Regions from separate parts of the Homo sapiens genome. Here all the other regions are linked to region 4. The links are contacts of gene promoters, found by promoter capture Hi-C in blood cells and fetal thymus (Javierre and others, 2016). All regions are on one chromosome and are shown on one strand. Each heading gives the region's core, a stretch centred on a gene start or on the middle of the fragment in contact. The rest is flanking DNA. Distances are from core to core; before and after follow the strand shown. Region 1 holds the start of DVL2 (dishevelled segment polarity protein 2). Region 2 holds the start of SLC2A4 (solute carrier family 2 member 4). Region 3 holds the start of DLG4 (discs large MAGUK scaffold protein 4). Region 4 holds the start of EIF4A1 (eukaryotic translation initiation factor 4A1).

Region 1 (3,270 bases), core at 536-3,035, 340 kb after region 4:
GGGAAAAGAGATCTCGAATCAAGAAGAGCAAGAAGCGGAAGTTAAAAAAGGCAGAACGGGGGGATAGACTCCCACCTCCTGGGCCTCCCCAGGCACCCCCCAGTGATACAGACTCTGAAGAGGAGGAGGAAGAGGAGGAAGAGGAAGAAGAAGAAGAGATGGCAACAGTGGTAGGGGGTGAAGCCCCAGTCCCTGTGCTGCCAACACCCCCTGAGGCTCCTAGGCCCCCTGCCACAGTGCACCCTGAAGGAGTCCCTCCTGCTGACAGTGAAAGCAAGGAGGTGGGCAGCACTGAAACAAGCCAAGATGGAGATGCCAGCTCCAGTGAAGGCGAGATGCGGGTCATGGACGAGGACATCATGGTAGAATCAGGTGAGAGGTTCGGGCTGGGGCGAGGGGTTTGAGGGTGTTGTGGATCCAACAGCTCAGGCAGAATACCAAACAAACCTTTTTTTCCCCAGGTGATGACTCATGGGATCTGATCACATGTTACTGTCGAAAGCCCTTTGCAGGGCGGCCCATGATTGAGTGCAGCCTGTGTGGGACGTGGATCCACCTCTCCTGTGCTAAGATTAAGAAGACCAACGTCCCCGACTTCTTTTATTGCCAGAAATGCAAGGAACTGAGGCCAGAGGCCCGGCGGTTAGGGGGGCCTCCCAAATCTGGAGAGCCCTGATGGCACCAACTTTAGCCTGGAACTTCCAAATGACAACATGATTTGGGAACTGAGCCTCAGGGTCCTCAGCCTATCCCCTGGAGCTTGGATACTGTCTGCACTTCAAGGCAGGAATTCTCAAGGGAGACTTGTTTGAAAATGAGTGTCTCACTTTCCCACCCTATCCTTCCTCCCCACTCTGTGGACTTGAAATTGAATCCATTACGGTTGGGGATGGGAGGCTGTCTGTGTCCCGACACATAATCTCTGTCTCTTGGACCTGCCACCATCACTTTCTGGGTCAGGATTGGAATTGGGATGGAATGGGACAGTTGTCTATAAAACTCTAGTGTAAATATTAGCACTCCCCTCCCTCATCTTTTCTTCTATTTCACTCCCCATTTATTTTCTTCTACACCGGTTGTATTTTTAATTTTGGACTTCCCCTATTGGGCATGGCAGCTCAAAGGTGGAGTACTAGAGCCTGGCCAAGTGAGGAAGGAAAGCAGAAAGGTGACGATTCTCACTCACCTCTTTTGTTTTTAATAATATCGGCCGCTGTTTGTACAGACAGCCTGCGTGTTGTAAATAAAGCAGAGTGGGCTCTTTTGTGTTTATAGCCCTCACTGTCCTGCTCGGGAGGGAGGCTTTGGTGGCTGAAGACTAGCTGGAGGTGGGGCTGAAACCCACGTCTCAAAGTCCAATCTGAAGATATCACAGCACTGGGCCTTTCCCACCCCAAGACAAGTAAGCCACCTTAGAGCTTTCATTGTATTTGGCCCTCCCCACTCGAGTCTAGGAACCCCCACAGTCCCCACCTTCACTCCCTGCACGCACACTCCTGCGGGTCAGAGTTGCTTCGTGCTCCATCGTGGGTGGGGTAAAGCGGGGTGGGAGCCGATGGTCCGTTTCCTGAAGGCACAGGCCAGCTTAGCCTGGGTGCTCAGAGGACCTCGGCTGGGGTACACGTTTGGGGGCTGGGAGACCGTTGCTGAAGGCAGCGATCATGTGGCGGGGGCACTAGGCGGAGTCAGACGGTCACGTGATTGGGAGGGGATCACGTGACGGAGGGCGGCTGAGGAGCGCGGGGTGGCTGCCTTTAAGTCACGTGACATGAGGAGAGGTGGGCGGGTACCTGGAGGAAGCTCGCGGCGTCGGTGGCGGTGGCGCGCGGCGGCCGCTGAGACCGGGGCTTTGAGTCGCACCCCGCGGCCCGCCCCCCGCCGCCACCCTCGCAGATCCGTGCTTTTTCCCCTTTGCTTCTCTCCCGTACTGGGTCAGTCCTGTCCGCGCTCGCGCGTCGGTTTGCGGGTGTGCGCAGGCGCGGCAGGGGCCATTAGCCCTTTGGGTGGGCGGTGGAGCCCGGGAGCGCGCGGGCGAGACCATGGCGGGTAGCAGCACTGGGGGCGGTGGGGTTGGGGAGACGAAGGTGATTTACCACCTGGATGAGGAAGAGACTCCCTACCTGGTGAAGATCCCTGTCCCCGCCGAGCGCATCACCCTCGGCGATTTCAAGAGCGTCCTGCAGCGGCCCGCGGGCGCCAAGTACTTTTTCAAGTCTATGGATCAGGATTTCGGGTGAGCGCAAGGCCTAGATAGGACCGGCGGGGGCTTTGCTAGAGTGGATTGGGCGACATGGAGGGGCACACGTCTACTTTGGGCCACACTGGGATTTTCTGGCCTATGGTGGAGCAGATTGTACTATGCTGAGGTAGGTTGACTATCCCAGGATGGACAAGGTTATGCTTGGATAGATTGAGGCACACGGACAGACTAGGATATCCTAAACCAGATTAGACAAGATTAGGCTTTACTGGAATAGGTGGGGGCATACTGGTTTATGTTGGAGTATTCTAGTCTGTACTGAGTAAATTGATCCATTGTCTGGTTGTTTAGTACGTTCTCAGGAGTCCTGTAACGCCTGTAATCCCAGCACTTTGGGAGGCTGAGGCGGGCGGATCACGAGGTCAGGAGATCGAGGCCATCCTGGCTAACACGGTGAAACCCCATCTCTACTAACTAAAAATACAAAAAATTAGCCGGGCGTGGGGGCACGCGCCTGTAGTCCCAGCTACTTGGGTGGCTGAAGCAGGGAGAATCTCTTGAACCTGGGAGGCGGAGGTTGCAGTGAGCCGAGATCGCGCCACTGCACTCCAGCCTGGGCGACAGTGCGAGACTCCGTCTCAGAAAAAAAACAAAAAACACTTGGGCCATTATGGACTCTACTGGGTTGTATTGGTTAATCCTGGTTTCTCTTGGGGCAAGACTTGGTTTTATTGGAGCACTCGGTATAGGGGCAGACAAGGCTGTTGGGGCCTGTGCTAGCACAGGCAGCCGTATTGGGATGTTCCAATCTAGACTGGTGCAGACAGCTGCGTGTGGGGGCATTGTAGGCTGTGCTAGAATAGATTGGGCTATCCTAGGGTAATTTGGGACATTCAGGGCTATCTTGGACTAGATTGGCGTGTAAATAATGCAGAGAAAGCCCTTTTGTGTTTATGGTCTTTGGGGCTGAGCCTTCTGGGTCCTCAACCTCTGCTTTTTTTTTTTTTTTTTTTTGAGACAGTCTCGCTCTGTCGCCCAGGCTGGAGTGCAGTGGCGCATTCTCAGCTCAC
Region 2 (3,425 bases), core at 926-3,425, 290 kb after region 4:
GCTAGGCAGGGCTGTGGTGCCCGTGAGTACCTGAGTAGGCGCCAATGAGGAATCGTCCAAGGATGAGCATTTCATAGGAGGCAGCAGCATTGGCCAGGCCCATGAGGCTGCCCCCCAGCACCGCCAGGACATTGTTGACCAGCATGGCCCTTTTCCTGGCAGGCAGACAGAGTGAGGCTGTGAGGGTGAGGGCACCCAGCAGTGGCTCCCTTCCTGTTTCCCCCACCCCTGCCCTCCAGCTGCGAACCTTCCAAGCCACTGAGAGATGATACCAATGAGGAAGGAGGAAATCATGCCGCCCACGGAAAAGATGGCCACGGAGAGGGCCCAGAGGGTGGTGAGGGTGCCTGGAGGGATGGAGCTGGGTCCCTCAGGCCCCTGCCTCCCCAGCCACGTCTCATTGTAGCTCTGTTCAATCACCTGGGGGACAGCAGAGGACAGATTTCCTGCAGACCGTCCCCTTTCCACCACCCCCGAGACACCTGTCCTCCTCGTTTGGGTACCCCCACCCTGCCAGCTGCAGGCCCTCACCTTCTGAGGGGCATTGATGACCCCAATGTTGTACCCAAACTGCAGGGAGCCAAGCACCGCAGAGAACACAGCAAGGACCAGGGTCCCAGTCACTCGCTGCTGAGGGGGTTCCCCATCCTGAACAGGCAGACACAAAGACACAGCATGTCACATGGAACCATGATTTTTTTCCTTCCGCTAGGGGCCCGGGCCCAGCTGGAGCCTGAAGATACTGGGCTCCACCCAACATGTTGGGTGAGGGAAACTGGGCCATATTAGGAATTGCACAAAGATCTCAATGTAAACAGGAGCTGAACTGCAACCTGGGCATAAAGGAGAAACTGGATGTTTGGGTCCATAAGGCAGAGAAATGTTTGAGAACTTGTCTCAAAATTCTTCTGTGACCTTGAGACAGGCTTGGCCTTAAGAGCTCAGATTTGTGTGACCTTGGCCAAGTCACTTCCCTGCCCCGAACCTGAGTGTCCTCTGTGAGATGGGGGTGATGTTGCCTGCCTTGCCTACCTATCTGTGAGAGTGTTGTGAAAATCAACATCACATGTTAACAATATCCTTGACAGTGCTGGTTTCATAAATTAACACGTGCATTATTATCATCAGCCACTGTCCTCTTCCCTCCCCTCTGGGGGTTCTGTCAGCCAGCTCCAGGAGGCCCCCAACAGGACCAAGAAGTGCTGTTCCAGAAAGGACATCCCGGTCATCTAGGGGTGGCCTTCTCTATCTACGTCGTGGCCTGCCCTCCCCCTCTAACCTCCGTGCAGGGAGGGCCGTCCAGGGGTTCTGCCTGGGAGAGCCATGCCCAGGGGAGGAGGGCAGGAAGGTAGTGTGAGGGGCGGTGGCAGTGGTGGCCGCTCGCTGGCGGCACAGACTGTCTCCAAGCGGAAACCTGAGCTGGAGGAGGGGGGGCTGACAGTCCCCTCTGCCCCTCCACCAACCATGGGGCCAAGGGAAAGTTCAGCGTCCTGGAGGGCGGCCAGGAGTGGGGGTGGGGGCCCACGGAGAGCCTCCGGTCCTCGAAACACTGCCCGTGAGCGAAGACGGACGGACAGCTCCCGGAGGGCAAGACCCGCCTGGATCTGCTTTCCCGAGTCGGATCGAGGGCAGGGTGTCCCCGATTCCGGAGCGCCGCGCCGCCTACTAGGCAAGGGGGTGAACCCTGGCTCGCAGAATCCACTTGCTGCCTGTGCCCCGAAAGGCCCTCCAGACCCACTCTGCCTTTTGGTAGGATTGGAATCTCACAGTCACGGGTTGTCCAGGCCGGGTATAAATAGCCAGCCCCCTACCTTCACCCCCTGCGCCTGCGCAGGAACCACCCCCAGCTGACCCCAACCGCGACCCCAGCCCAAGAAAAGCGGGACCCGTGCCCCCCCGCCCCGCCCCCTCATGATGAATCCTACTTCGGAGCCTATCTGTTGGAAGCCCGACGGCATCTCGTCTTAGAAGAGCTGGACGCGCAGGGGCGGCGAAGATGAAAGAACCGATCCTGGAGTCTCTGACTCCGGCCTGGAGCGCAGAACCTGCGGAGGCCGCGGGGGTCCCGGAGTGACGTGCGAGGGCGGGCCCGATGGGACCCACAGCCACAAGCCAAGGACCCGGAGAGCAGTGGGGCTCCCGCGGATCTGGTGGAGCGGGGCTGGGGGAAAAGACGCGAGAAGCCCCCGCCACCTCGCTCCTGCCCCCGCGGGCCACGCCCTTCACAGCACCCATTGGCCAGGAGCCCGCACACCCCAGAAGGCCACGCCCCCTCCGCCTGGGGTTTAGAGTTTGGCTGGAGTTGGTGGGGCGGGCCAATGAGGCCACGCCCCTCCGCGTGGCTGGCGAGACACGCCTCTCGGGTTCCCGCCAGCCTCCGACTGGGAAGTTTTGAGAAAAGAGTCCCTGGAACAAAAGGCCCCGCCCACCCACGTGTTAGGACTCCGCCCACCAGCTAGGATCCCGGGCTGCAGAAGCATCTTAAACTCTGCGGGTCTGGACAGTGGGGTCTGAGAGGAGAGGACGGGCCAGGTGTACTTGCCCCGGGGAAACTCCAGCGGCCTGAGACGGCTCGCGAGCCGGCGCGCGGGTTGGGAGAGGAGCAATGCCCCAAAGTAACCCGGGGCTGCTATTTTTAGCTCCCACGTTGGGAGCCTCCAAATGTCAGGTCCCGGGCGTCCCGGCCTGTCCCAGGCGGGGGCGGAGAGACAGGGAGATGACGCCTTAAAGAGTCCGCGACATGCTTCCCACGCGAGTGTGGCCCTGGGGGCCAGGAAATTCCGTTCCCACAACGGGTCTGGTGGCCGGGCTGCTTGGTCCTGTCTTTCAGCGCCTCCCTGCTCCGGGCACTGTCTATCCCGCCCTTCCCCTACACACATTCCCCAGGTTGGTTCCTGGAGCCGGTCCGAGGGACAAGTGGTCACAACCGACCACACCACCAGCCCTGAGGTCTCTGAGCCTCTGAGGTCTCTGAGCATATGCTGGCCGCGTGAACGACACGCTCTCTGGAGGCTGCTCCGGGTTTGGATCCTCGGCCAAATTCTGCCAGGCAGAAAGTGCGCGACCTAGGGTCGGCGTGTGGGGAGAGAGAAGCCGAAATACCCAGAGCGTGGAGAGTGTCTGGCTCAGAAAACGGGCTTCGGAAGCGCAGGGTTGTGCTGCCACCTGGAGGGCGAGCGAGGAGCCGCAGTGGATTGCACTTGGAATCTCAACCCACTATTTCTCGCCTTTCCGCCACCATAGGGCTTCAGTGACATCTGACCCAGGCCCTTCTCTGGAGCTGCAGATCCAGGTGTTCGTTACCGCCCGGATGTGGCAGCTCTAGTGATCAGCATGTCCAAACCTGCTCCTCCTCCTAACTTCCTTATTTCAATGAATTACCCGCCCAGTCACCCCTATGGTAGAAGTCAGGCTCGATTCCTCCT
Region 3 (3,567 bases), core at 161-2,660, 360 kb after region 4:
ATGGGAAGAGGGGGCCAGGGTGTGTGGAGCAAGATGGTGGCGGTGCTGGTGCCTTGGGACCTGGGGGAATGGGACAGCTGGTCGGCTCAGAGACGGCCTACTTTACTCACAGCTGGAATTTAGTGGGGAGAAGCAGCTCAACTCCAATCCTGGAGGATTAGGGAGATTAAAGTGAGAGAAGAGAGAGATGTCCCAGAGACCAAGAGGTGAAAAACAGGGCTCCTTGTGGAGGGGAGGTCTGGGAGCGAAGTGGGGGGCTGGGGCTCGGAGATCCTTCTCCCCAAATCTTTCCGTAGGGGCTGGGGTGAAGGGCACAGTCTGGGGAGATGAAGTGACAGTGTGTTCATCTTCCTGTGTTGGCATCTTCCCTGTCCCAATTCTCCTTGCATCTCACTAGCTCCCAGGTCAGCCCTCTGGCTCCTGGCACCCCCACTGCTGCGGTGGGCACCCCCACTCCTCACAGTGCTGCATAGCGACCTCTTCCAGGCCTTGCTGGGTGAGTAGCCCGTTTTCTGAGGGACCTGGGCCTCCAAGGGCCATTACTGAACTTCGGGGGCTGTTTGGGAGCCCAGAGATCATTTGGTCCAAGCTGGAGCACCATGCAGGGTCCTGCCTATGGTGTCCTCCATGAGTGTGGACCAGCCTTGGCTGAAAGGGCTCCTCCCTTGCCAGCCAGCCAGCAGCGGTGATGACAGGGGTGATGTGCCTGGAGAGGCCTGGGGTGGGGAGGTAACTCAGTTCTGTTCCTGTGACAGACATCCTGGACTATTATGAGGCTTCCCTCTCAGAGAGTCAGGTAAGGAGGTGGGGGCGAGCGCCTAACTTCCTGAGGGGCAGGCAGGGCTGGAGGGGTGAGCCAAATATCACTAATATTACCTGGAATCTTGGGGGCCCTGCTGACAAAAGCCTGAGTCAGTGGCCCAGGGACTTGGGGCACCGAGAATGCACTCTCTGTGGTCCTGTACCCACTCTCCCTTTCTTCCTCGTTTTCTTTGGCTGCCCCAGTTTCAGGCACTAAAGAGTCTAGGGCTTAACTTTTTAGGTTTCCCCCTGAGAAACCTGAGGGAGAACTAGGCCCCCAGGGATTGCCTCCTTCAGCTCCTCCCTCACACCCGACCCCCTACCGCCTGCCGAGAGGCCTCCCTCCCGTATTCAAATAACCGTGGGTGCTCCCAGCCCAACTATAGATGCTTCCTTCTCTAAGAAATGAAATCCAGCCTCATCGTCTTTGCTGTCATCGCTGGTGGCTGGCCAGGTCTCCATGTTTGCCTCAGGGGCCTCTGTGCTTCTGCTTCTATCTCCTTTCCCATTATCCGGGTTCCTGCCAGCACAGAAGGAGTTAACTCTGCCAAGGCACCCCCCCCATTCTGGCTCCTAGCTCCCTCCCTCCCTCCCCCTGCTTCCTCTCTCCTCCTCTCTCCCCTTCCCTCTTCGGCTCCACGGCTCCCTCGGCCGCTGCCGTTTCCAACCCCCCCACCCCACTCCCCCGCCACGGCCCCTAGCCCCTGGCCGTTTGGCAAGACCCCCCCCTACCCCGGGGCTCCCCGAAATCCAGTTCCCCTCCCCCACCCCAGCTCATGCCCCAGCCCCCGAACTCCGGGGCTGCCAGCCCCCGGTGCCCCCGCCCCTCCTGAGAATCGGGGTGTGCTCCCCAAGCCCCCTCCCCTCCACTGGGGAGCCCCTTTTAGGGCCCCCTTCCCCTCCCTCCCACGCTCCCCTCCCCTTCCCTTCTCCAACCCCCTCCTTCCCCTCTCACCCCTCCCCCCATCCTGGCCCCCCCTGCAAAAGTGGGGTGCGGAGGGGGGAGGGGTGAGAACCCACGGAGGGGAGGAACGAAACTCCGATGAAGTCAGAGCCCCTTACCCGCCGCCGCGGCCAGGCCCCCCAACATGGACTGTCTCTGTATAGTGACAACCAAGGTAAGCATGATGGGGGGGCTATAAACTGGGGGGAGGGTATGAGTTTGTGGGGAGGGGTTAGTAGGCCTTATCTGGGACTGGCGCCCCTGGAGTGGCAGCATCAGAAGTAAGATGTATTTGGGGGTCTTAATTTAGTTTTGGGGTTCACATCTGAGAAAATGCAGGATTTGGCCACAGGTGCCCCCTGGAGTGATCCCTTTGTACCTGTAGGGATATGGAAAATTTAGGATATTCCATGGTTCGGGGGGCCTGGCGGGTTTGGGGGTTCATCAGCGCTGTTTGAGGGAGACTTATTTAAGGAGAAGCCTGGCTCATAAGGGAGTCCTGCTGGTGTATGTGGGAAGGTGGGCTATGTTGGGGGGTTCCTCTTTCCTCCCCAGGGAAAAGCTGGCTTCCAAGGGCCTTGTCCAGTTTTGGGGGGCTCCTGGCATGGGGTAAAGGTTATTGGTTGTGAGTGCCTGACTGATCTGGGGGTGTCAGCTGGCAGGGAAGGGGTGGGCCTTCAGACTCTAGAACAAGCATCTCGTGGTGGCTGCATTTAGGGATGCTCTCTCAATTTGAGGGAACTGTTAATTTAGGGTTCAGTCATATAGAATGGAGGTAGTTGGAAGTTGTCAGAGGGCTGGGGCCCTGGCATGGGATCACCTGAGGGAATGGACCAGGTGAGGCAAGGATTTGGGGGTACTCCCATAGGAGGCAGAAGATTGCAGCAGCCGAGCTTGCCAGCCCCTGAGGAGGAGGATGAGAGGCTTAGGGAGAGAGGGGATTTGAGGAGGGGGACCGGGTGGGTGGTGCACAATTTGGGGGTGGCCCAAAGGCAGGTGCCCAATATCCCCATCTCCTCCCACACTGTATCTAGCCCTGATCAAGAGAGAGGGAGAAGAGCAGATGTGGGGACTGTTCCAGATACCCCTGACGCTTGGGATCAAGGTGGGGGAGGACACCTGGATTTAAGGGTCCCTGAGGGCTTATGACCGAAGTTACTGAGGTTACTGGGGTGAAAAGGTGTAGGAGGAGGGCAGGGCTGGCAGCGATGGGGATCTGTGCAAGAGTGTCCCTCTGGTTGGAGCCTGGCAAAGGCAGGAGATCTCGGATGGAGCACAGGCGAGCTCCTGGTGGGATGCAGATACCTAGGCTCTCCTTGGAGACTCTGGGACTGGAGAGCTGGATGCCTGGTGTGTGGAGGGAGGCTTGGGCGGGTGGCAGGCAGCTGGGGGCTGGGGGGTGGGACAGGAAGTGGGGGCCGGGGGAGGCGGGGTCCGGGTGAGTCACAGGCTGGGGAGGGGGTTATATTTAGTGGGAACTGCAGCTTTTCATGGGAGGGAGCTGAGGACACACATGTTCCCTGCCACAAACTCACACATGTGTGTACACATGCATTGTGCACGTGTGAGGATGGTTGGAAGAGATTGGGGGCTGAGGACCTTTAGATCTGGAGCCCCCACCCTCTCTCCACCAGGGCGACTTTCTTGTCCTTCATTCTGTGGGTTTCGGGCTTTCTCCCAGGCTGCCTCTTCCCCACATCCCCTGTAGTTTCGGTGGATTTTTATGCCTCAGTTTCTCTGGCCTGGTTTCCTCTGCTCCCGCTGTCTCCTGCCCTTAGGCCTGTCACTTGGCCTTAGGCTCCATGGCTGTGGTCCCCTGCATT
Region 4 (3,197 bases), core at 7-2,506:
CCCATGCAGGCAGCGGCTCAGGCCAGGCCACCCCCGACATAAGGGGGTGACCCTTTCTGAAGACAGGCCGGCAGGCGTGCCGCCGCGCTCACGGTGCCCAGAGGTGGTGCTTGCCGCCGGGTCCACGTGGGCCCGACCCAGCCGCTTAAAGCCCAAGCGCGTGCACCTCCCACCGCAGCACCAGCGCGCTGGAAGTCCCGCCCTTCACCTCCCAGATCGGAGGGTAGGACATCCCCTTCCCCCCACGTCATCCCGCCCGCGCCCTCCCCCACTCCCTCCAGCCGAAGCCCCCCCCTCGCGTTGCCCGGATGTGGGAGGCCGCGGGCGGTGGCGGCCTCGCGCACAATGAGCCCAAGCCGAGCTAGCAAAGGGGGAGATTGCACAACACTTAGAAGCGAAGCAGACTGGGGGAGGGGAACGCCTCAGGCCACCATGTGCTCGCTCCCTCGACCACCCGGCGGCGTCTCCCACCCCTCCATGAACAATCCACATCCCGCCCGCCCCCGTCGCGAAGTAGCGTCGCCCTCCCATACCTCAGGCCGCTCACCCCCGAAGGAAGGTGGACCTGCCCATCCGCAGTTTGCCAATAGCCCGGCTTGTGCGGCAAAATGGACCCGCCCGCCCGGCGCCGGGTGGGCTCCTGGTGCCTCACGCGGCCGCTCCTCGGGGTTAGGCTCAGTCCTGGCCGTCAAGAAAACCAGCACACTGAACGGCCGGTTTCTTCTCCCCGACCCGTGTTTTAGCCGCGACGAAGTGACTGGATCTAAGGACCAGGCACCCCCGCCTCTCGCGAGTGGTACCGTCAGAATGCTCCGGAACCCCGCGCGCCGTCCCTCCCCCGGCACAGGGAGGCAACCGGACCTGCCGGCTCTGGGCCACACATAGTGGCGGCCGCCTCCACCTTTCTTTCCCACGCCAGGTCGCGACCCCGTCTCGCCACTCAGCGCCGGGGCTTCGCGCATGGCACCGCCTCGGGTCGAGGCCTCGTAACAGACCTCGCACGCCTGACCCTAGCCGGGCTGTCCCTACCCTCCGCCTCGACCTGGTGGCCGCGTCGGCCGTGGGTCTTCCCCCTCGCCCCTCCAAGTCGGACCCTCCCCCCACCCGGTTCGGTTTCTCCCGCAACCCTGGTGGGCCTCTCAGCTACCCCCGGCGGGCCCGTCGGAAGGGGGCGGCAAAATAAGCAGCCACAATCTCTTGCAAATGCCTTTCTTACCGGGAATCCTGGCTCGCAGACATGATCCTTAGAAACTAGGGCGGAGTGCCCGCCTATCGACAACTTATAGAGCGCCCGACTCCGCCCCGGCCATCGCATTGGTTTGGCCGCCCCGGCCCCGCCTGCCGGCGCTCAGCAACTCGGCATGACGTTAGTTCCTAGTCGCTCCGGCCCGCAGGCACCATTGGATAACTCGAGTGCCTATCAAGGTGAAGGCCCGCCCCGCAGCCTCATTGGCTGGAGGGCCCGCCTTTCTCGCCGGTACGGAAGTGACATAGAAGAGTCAGGCCTCGAGGCCTGGCAGCCATCTTGGGGCCCTGCACTCTCACACGTGCGGAGGCGACAGTGCCTTGGTCATGTGGCTCCGTAGGCCCTATCACGCAAGGGGGGCGAGGTCTCAGCCTCCAGAGGCTTCCGGGCTCTGGGGGTTATCACTTCCCTTTACTTCTGCTCCCGGTCTCCACTGGACTCAAATGTTATTTGTTTTCCCCTGTAGCAGAGATGGATTCGACACTGCCTGGACGTGTGCCAGGGATGAAGGAATCAACAGCGATATCGTAGGGATGGGAGGATTCCCCTGGCTGGATGGTGGAGGGATGGAAGAAAACTGTAAAGGGCTTTGGGGTACTATCATGAATCCTGGTTGGTCCCCTCCCCAGTCCCTTGTGTCCAGTTCCCCAGCTTCCCTCTCGGATGCCCTTATTCTTGAGGCTTATCTACTTTCCCTCCTTCCTGCTCTCTGCTCCCATCTCGGGGATTTGTTTGGGTGAAGACAAGGTGTTGGCAGTGCCTGAGCCAGGGATGGAAAGCTGAACCCTTTAGTCTCAAGAGACTGGCTGGAAGGTCTGAGCTAAGCATATCCACTAATTTGAAGCCCCTTAAGGAAGACCACCACTTACGTATCAACAAAGGATCCTTTATTGACCAGAGCAGGACCGTGGCATTTATATATTTTTATATATATATATATATATATATATATATATATATATATATATATATATATATATATATATATATATATATAAAAGTTTGAAGATCTGGCAGGCAGTGATCCTATTGTCCGCCCACCACCCCCAGCACTGATTTCCTGCTCCCTGCACGGGGAAGGGGGAGGATGACTGCTCCACCCAGGCCACAGGGCCACACTCCCCTGCAAACAGAGGAAGAAAGGGGCTTTTCTGTAGCCACCCCCTGCACATCAGAAATCAACAAGTATTCTCTCAAAGAAAAAAAAATACAGAAATTGAAACATTTAAATATGAAAAACCAAAGGGAAGTGAGTGGGAAGAGGCAAGAGAGGAAAGGAACTGGAGTTTCTTGGGAAGGGACTCCCATGTCTCCCTTCCCATTTATGGGCTTGGGGTCTGGGGTACGAGGCTCACACAGTGAGTTTGCAGTGACACAGCTCCTTGTAGATCTGCCGACGAAGTTTGGGCATGTCCTGCTGGGTGAAGCTGAATGGCTGAGACAGGGCCAGATGCTTGCAGTACTGGGTGTTAACAAAGCAAGCCATGAGAAACCCCCCGTGTCAGGACCTGTGCTACACATTTCATATGAGATGTGTCTCCATCCTTCAGAGAACATCCCCAAAGGGAGCCAGGGTCCCACAGCCTGGGGTTCAAAAACAGCCTGACTCTAAAGCTAGTGTTCTTACTTGATAGAATGTTTTAGATGGAGAAAATACACTGAGTTGGAGGTTAGCAGGGAGCTCTATGAAGGCCAGAGGCCCAAGACTAGAGACCCAGTCCCAATGTGGGATGGAGAAGTCCAGAAGAGAACCAGTGAAGCCAGTGTTTTGGTGTTCTAAAACAGATTACTTCCTGCTCCACAACTGACTATGAGCCAAATGAGGGGATGCATAACAGCCTCCCGACCCTTTAACCCAACTGACTTCAGAGCTAGGGGAGGTGGCCCCATCATCTGCTTACCTGCAACACAAAAGCACCACAGTCACTGTCATTATTCTGCCTGGCCACAT

Evidence for each region. Contacts are between HindIII fragments. The CHiCAGO score rates a contact against its expected background, and 5 or more counts as called.
Region 1: a contact is called between the fragment with the promoter of DVL2 here and the fragment with the promoter of EIF4A1 in region 4, in 16 of 17 cell types (naive B cells, fetal thymus, total CD4 T cells and 13 more). The highest score is 17.0, in naive B cells.
Region 2: a contact is called between the fragment with the promoter of SLC2A4 here and the fragment with the promoter of EIF4A1 in region 4, in 3 of 17 cell types (total CD4 T cells, non-activated CD4 T cells and fetal thymus). The highest score is 5.8, in total CD4 T cells.
Region 3: a contact is called between the fragment with the promoter of DLG4 here and the fragment with the promoter of EIF4A1 in region 4, in 10 of 17 cell types (activated CD4 T cells, non-activated CD4 T cells, naive CD8 T cells and 7 more). The highest score is 9.9, in activated CD4 T cells.

Annotation. Positions count from the first base shown.
Region 1 is chr17:7,233,032-7,236,301 of GRCh38, reverse strand. DVL2 (dishevelled segment polarity protein 2) reads left to right here and starts at 1,785. Exons shown (of 15, transcript NM_004422.3): 1 at 1,785-2,233. The coding sequence starts at 2,040. It overlaps PHF23 (PHD finger protein 23), which reads left to right. Exons shown (of 5, transcript NM_024297.3): 4 at 1-372; 5 at 462-1,264. The coding sequence ends at 676. RefSeq lists an enhancer at 1,588-1,637 and a silencer at 1,748-2,047. The HindIII fragment of the contact is 14,867 bases long and covers 1-3,270 here.
Region 2 is chr17:7,280,468-7,283,892 of GRCh38, reverse strand. It overlaps SLC2A4 (solute carrier family 2 member 4), which reads right to left and starts at 2,175. Exons shown (of 11, transcript NM_001042.3): 1 at 1,926-2,175; 2 at 532-648; 3 at 248-420; 4 at 31-155. The coding sequence starts at 1,958. RefSeq lists an enhancer at 942-1,929 and a silencer at 2,062-2,211. The HindIII fragment of the contact is 20,977 bases long and covers 1-3,425 here.
Region 3 is chr17:7,215,470-7,219,036 of GRCh38, reverse strand. DLG4 (discs large MAGUK scaffold protein 4) reads left to right here and starts at 1,410. Exons shown (of 20, transcript NM_001321075.3): 1 at 1,410-1,919. The coding sequence starts at 1,890. It also overlaps a transcript of ACADVL not described here. RefSeq lists an enhancer at 3,080-3,567. The HindIII fragment of the contact is 10,481 bases long and covers 1-3,567 here.
Region 4 is chr17:7,570,884-7,574,080 of GRCh38, reverse strand. EIF4A1 (eukaryotic translation initiation factor 4A1) reads right to left here and starts at 1,256. Exons shown (of 11, transcript NM_001416.4): 1 at 1,217-1,256. The coding sequence starts at 1,239. SENP3 (SUMO specific peptidase 3) reads right to left here. Exons shown (of 11, transcript NM_015670.6): 10 at 3,148-3,197; 11 at 2,112-2,708. The coding sequence ends at 2,598. SENP3-EIF4A1 (SENP3-EIF4A1 readthrough (NMD candidate)) reads right to left here. Exons shown (of 22, transcript NR_037926.1): 10 at 3,148-3,197; 11 at 2,602-2,708; 12 at 1,217-1,797. RefSeq lists enhancers at 1-28, 1-246, 247-1,002, 1,509-1,578, 1,699-1,758 and 2 more and silencers at 169-308, 1,209-1,268, 1,279-1,338. The HindIII fragment of the contact is 10,998 bases long and covers 1-3,197 here.